Linked DNA regions of Homo sapiens: region 2 is linked to region 1. The links are contacts of gene promoters, found by promoter capture Hi-C in blood cells and fetal thymus (Javierre and others, 2016). All regions are on one chromosome and are shown on one strand. The core of a region is centred on a gene start or on the middle of the fragment in contact, and the rest is flanking DNA. Distances in the headings are between cores, read along the strand shown.

Evidence for each region. Contacts are between HindIII fragments. The CHiCAGO score rates a contact against its expected background, and 5 or more counts as called.
Region 2: a contact is called between a fragment that was not itself captured here and the fragment with the promoter of ZSCAN29 in region 1, in 2 of 17 cell types (erythroblasts and megakaryocytes). The highest score is 6.1, in erythroblasts.

Annotation. Positions count from the first base shown.
Region 1 is chr15:43,369,730-43,372,429 of GRCh38, forward strand. ZSCAN29 (zinc finger and SCAN domain containing 29) reads right to left here and starts at 1,314. Exons shown (of 6, transcript NM_001372080.1): 1 at 829-1,314; 2 at 1-296. The coding sequence starts at 184. It overlaps TUBGCP4 (tubulin gamma complex component 4), which reads left to right and starts at 1,372. Exons shown (of 18, transcript NM_014444.5): 1 at 1,372-1,703. The coding sequence starts at 1,626. RefSeq lists a silencer at 1,013-1,282 and an enhancer at 1,383-1,502. The HindIII fragment of the contact is 4,998 bases long and covers 1-2,700 here.
Region 2 is chr15:43,768,193-43,770,892 of GRCh38, forward strand. It overlaps PDIA3 (protein disulfide isomerase family A member 3), which reads left to right. Exons shown (of 13, transcript NM_005313.5): 9 at 297-405; 10 at 1,326-1,454; 11 at 2,058-2,137; 12 at 2,331-2,388. Among named protein-coding and RNA genes, the nearest start is that of ELL3, 7.4 kb to the right of the region's middle. The HindIII fragment of the contact is 790 bases long and covers 1,053-1,842 here.

The DNA of each region.
Region 1 (2,700 bases), core at 64-2,563:
CCAACAGTTCTACAATCTGCTCCTTGGTGCGCACCTCCGGCCTTAGCCACCGACAGCAAAGTTCCCAGAGTTGGCTGAAAGCCTCCCGCGGCCCAGCCACCTCCTGGTAATGGAATCTCCTGAAACGCTGTCGGAAGGTCTCAGAGTTAGTGCCATTCTCTCTTAGAGCTGATTTGGCCATCATTAATAGCAGAATGCAGCTTCCCTTCGCTTAGGAGTCTGGGTTCCAGGGCTTACATCTATCTTCCCATGTCCTTGGAGAATCCCCTGCAGATGACTGTAAGAGGTGTTTCTTCCTAGGGCAGAGAAAGATGGCACTATCAGAAGGAATACATTCATATGTCTAAAGTCTTGCCAGAGCTGGCCTGCCTTTCCATGTGCTCCGAGTGGCCTTCTAAGGTAGCACAATCTTCAGTAAATAGACTTTGCAAAAACTGCTTTTCTGGTTGACTTCCAGGGCAGCCCCAGGAAGCAGCAGAGAATAAAAGTACTGTCTGCCCCTCTCCCACCTCCTCCAAATCCGATCCCATTTAACTTCCCTGGCCAATGTTGCACAGTGAGTCCGAACCATATAGGAGAGCTGGAGTTCGAGAGGATCTAAAGACAAGTCACCATCCTGCTTGAAGGCAACAAAAAGCCTCTGTCCAGCTGGTCGCAGCTGATCTCCCCCAGTATCTCCGCAGTCCTTCCCGAGGCCTTCTGCGTCCGCCCCGCCCCCTCGGGCTGCACAACTCCCAAAGCCCACCCCAGGCAAAAATCACGTCCAGAATCTCGGGTCTTTGTTTTCCCCGCGTAGTAGTAGCCGCTCAGCAAGGATTAGGGAGCTACCTGTCGGAAAACCTCGCGCAAGGAGAGAAGCTGGTTTTGGCTCCAAAGCGAGGACCATGGGGGCTTGGGGAGAGTCACATTGGGCAGGAGAGACGGAATCCGAGGAGCAGTAGTAACGGGCTTCCTGAGGACGGGCTCGGGTGTCGGCCAGAGGCTCCAGGTGCTGCCGGTTCGCGGACGCAGAGCTCTCAGCCCAAGGAGCAGCGGCTGCGGGATTCTGGCCTCTTTTGTCTCCGCTCCCTCCGGCCGGGTAACCCGGAGCCGTCGTGCGGTCCCTCCAGAGGCCTCTGACCCGGCTAAGGCGCCCTGAGGGCGCCCTCCAGCCCACCCCTGGGAGCGTCTCCCTCTCGAGCTGCCCCTCAACCCCCTCGCATCCTTGCCTCCGGGCCAGCCTCACCCACTCGGGGTCCGACCCTGACCCCGGCCCCGGCCCCGGCCCCGGCCCCGGCTCTCCAGCCTCCCAAGTACAGCTCCCAAACCGGAAGTCCGAGCGGGCGGCTCGGGGCACCGAGGGCGCATGCGCGAGGGCAGCGACCGCGACTCAGTCTCCGCAGAGCCCGGGCGGGAGTAGCTGGTGGACCCCGTTGAGCTGCCGAACTTCCGGGACTCCCCCGCGACCCCTTCCCAGCTTCCCGTCCGCTCCGCCGCAGCGATTGTCTCGGTGGGTTGATTCGGCACAAACCGCCCGACCCAGGGGCCGGTGCGCGTGTGGAAGGGGAAGCACTCCCCTCGTGGTCGCCTGGAGGTGCGCTGGAGGAGGGGGTGACATAACCAGGGACTCGAGGTCCGCCGTGGGAATGATCCACGAACTGCTCTTGGCTCTGAGCGGGTACCCTGGGTCCATTTTCACCTGGAACAAGCGGAGTGGCCTGCAGGTACTGTCCGGCGCAGAGCGCGGGAACCAGGGAGCGCAGGAGGGGGGACCTGAGCCAGCGCCTGGGGGAGTAGGCTGAGGGACCTAGCGAGCGGGGCTTCCAGGGCTGGGGGCGTATCCCTGGACAGGTGACTGGAGGGCAGCCCCTTAGGGTCAAGGCTGATGCGACACCTAGAGAGGCCGGGCCTAGGCTAGAAAACGGAGGGCAGACCTCGAAGAGCCCCACCTGTGGCGGGGCGAGGAAAGGGCCTGAGGTCCAGGTGTCTGACAGTTGCTGGGGAATGATATAGAAGTGTGGGAGGCACTTTCTCCTATTTATTTTCACACGTGCATTGTTTGAGTTTTGAAGTACTGGGCCAAATACACAGCTCCCAAACACATGGTAAGCGCTCAGTAAAGTTTGTTGAAGGAAATAAATGAAATCGAGAGCGTGTGGTGTTTCCCTCATTACTCCTTTACCAGAAAATTTCTGCACTAGGTAAAGCACTTGGTAGGGGGCCTTTGTGTAACCAGGAATGTATGATGTTCCGTATGCATTATCTTATTTAATCCTCACAACCACCTTATCCATTTTACAGATTAAGCTAGGTTTAGAATAGTTAAATAACTATCGGGGTCATAGCTAGTAATTAACAGAGCTTAGTTTTGAAGCCAGGTCTGTCTGGCTTCAGTATTTGAACTACTTTTACCTGCTTCTGCTTCCAGTAATGTTATCTAATGCTCTCAATAATTTAGTCCACTTAGGTATTGTTTCTACCAGTTAACAAATGAGCAAACTGAAGCTCAGAAAACTTTATGCTGGCCAGTCCTAGTAGTGGCAAGACTGAAATCTAGGTCCGTCTGATCACCAAGACATGCCGATTCTTAGGAGACTGTGGAAGAGCAGAAAAAGTACATTCTTAGTCTATAAAACCTATAAATCAAACAGTTTCCTTTCGTTATTATTTATGAACATGTATTTGGAGTTTGGGAGTTTAGGTGAATTTTTGAAAAAAACA
Region 2 (2,700 bases), core at 198-2,697, 400 kb after region 1:
CAAAATACTGTAAATAGTGTGCTCCAGAGCAATAAGACCTTGTTTTCTTACAAAGATGAATCTCCAGAAGACCAATGATTCTCCTTTCTCTGAACTTTGTAATCCACAAAGAACACACTAGAAATAAAAGGAACGGTTTGTTTCTTCAGTCGGTAGTTCTGCATATTGAGAGATGAGAGTCCCCCTTTTTTAGCCTTGAAAAGCTAAAATACATAGTAACTATTCAAAGAAATTGCTGTAATTTTCTCAGCGGTGGGAATAGATTAACAAGCCTTACCCTTGTTTTCCAATTGTAGGCGTGATGGGAAGGCTCTGGAGAGGTTCCTGCAGGATTACTTTGATGGCAATCTGAAGAGATACCTGAAGTCTGAACCTATCCCAGAGAGCAATGATGGGCCTGTGAAGGTGAGGTGCTCACAGCCTCATCAAGCTATGAGCAATTGCCTGTCCTCATTTCTTTGTTCCAAAACTGTGGGGTCTAAATGAAGACTTCGTTGGCCATCTCTTTTTTTTTTTGTCCTTACTCCCGAGTCATAAAATAAGCATTGGCAGGCCAAGCGGTGGCTCATGCCTGTAATCCCAGCACTTTGGGAGGCAAAGGCGGGCACATCACAAGGTCAAGAGTTTGAGACCAGCCTGCCCAACATGGTGAAACCCCGTATCTACTAAAAACACAAAAAAATCAGCCGGGCATGGTGGCGGGCGCCTGTAAGCCCAGCTACTCGGGAGGCTGAGGCAGGAGAATCGCCTGAACCCAGGAAGCAGAGGTTGCAGTGAGTCAAGATTATGCCACTGCACTCCAGCCTGGGCGACAAGAGCGAAACTCCATCTCAAAAAAAAAAAAAGCATTGGCAGGGCTCATAATGCTTGGTAGGGGCAAGCGTGTAAAGCCTGCGTAGAATTTTCTGATGAAATTTATATTGGGCTAAGTTACTCTTGAGGATAGAGCAACCCCTAAGAACAGTGTGTTGCTTTGAATTTTTTATAGGGATGTGGTCTTACTCTGTTGCCTCAGCCTTCTGAGTAGCTTGGACTGCAGGCATGTGCCACCAAGCTTGGCTTGAAATTATTTTAAGGAATGGTTGGGTAGCACTTCTATGTCCTGTAACTTCCTGAACATAGTTTGACAGGTGACAGACATAGGAACGAGTTGGTATCTAGTGAATGACAACATCTTTAATACAATCTGTAAATGTGATTTGGGTTTCCATGACTTATTTTCTGTGGTAACACATCAAATTAGAGAGGGATTGGGTCTAGGAACAAATACAGTTGTGAATTTATTTTTTTATGTTACCAACTAGAGATTCTTCTGTGTTTTCCAGGTAGTGGTAGCAGAGAATTTTGATGAAATAGTGAATAATGAAAATAAAGATGTGCTGATTGAATTTTATGCCCCTTGGTGTGGTCACTGTAAGAACCTGGAGCCCAAGTATAAAGAACTTGGCGAGAAGGTAAGTGTGAACCCTATTCTGAGGATAACATTTGAGCGGGAGCAGTAAGTTTATGTATGTATTCAGCATTGGCTAATTTGGTTGGTTCCTAAGTACTGATAGATTTTTTTCCCAATTACTTGCTGTTTACTCACTTTCTCGTGACTGCCCCCTAGTGCTCCAGCCTGTGCAGTGCCTGAGATACCCACTTTTAACATTCCATTCCTCAGGCTCAATCTAGATAATGGTTAAAAATATCTAAGGACTTCTGAATTTTGGTAATGGCTTACATGAATCCATATGGTCCTTCATCTTAAAACATTTGGCTTAGCCCCTGTAATGTCTTATTCAGACCAGGTAAATTTGAAGGTGGCAATATGTAGAGTCTTAATACAAGAGAAAAAAGGGAAGCTTGTGGAAAGTGAGGTACTACCATCTGCAAACCACTCTTCCCACATGAACAGCAGTTTATCTGCTGGAATTACAGGTGCGCACCACCACACCCGGCTAATTTTTGTATTTTTAGTGTTTGAAGAATGAGATTGTTTTAAGTCTTCAATTGACTAAGTGTCCCTCTGTCACTGAAAACTTGAAATGTAAACATTTAACCTGTTTTATTAACAGCTCAGCAAAGACCCAAATATCGTCATAGCCAAGATGGATGCCACAGCCAATGATGTGCCTTCTCCATATGAAGTCAGAGGGTAAGTGGCTTAAAACTTAACAAAAGTGTCTAGGCAATAGATAGGAATAAAGCTTGTAACCACCAGGAAATCATTACTAGACATAGTTTTCATATTCAGTTGAAGGCAGAACCACTGATTCCTTCTTGGCTTAAGAGTTCTGCAGTATGGGCCCACATAACTGCTTGAAATTAATAAATGTTTCTTTCCCCAGTTTTCCTACCATATACTTCTCTCCAGCCAACAAGAAGCTAAATCCAAAGAAATATGAAGTAAGTGAATTGTCCCATATCCCCACAAATATATACACAGACGTAAACACACAACCTTAAACATAGTTCTTTAATTGGGTTTATTTATTTATTTAATTATTTTTTGAGACGGAGTTTCGCTCTTGTTGCCTGGGCTGGAGTGCAATGGCGTGATCTCGGCTCACCGTTCAAGCGATTCTCCTGCCTCAGCCTCCCGAGTAGCTGGGATTACAGGCATGCGCCACCACCCCGGCTAATTTTGTATTTTTAGTAGAGATGGGGTTTCTCCATGTTGGTTGGGCTGGTCTTGAACTCCTAACCTCAGGTGATCAG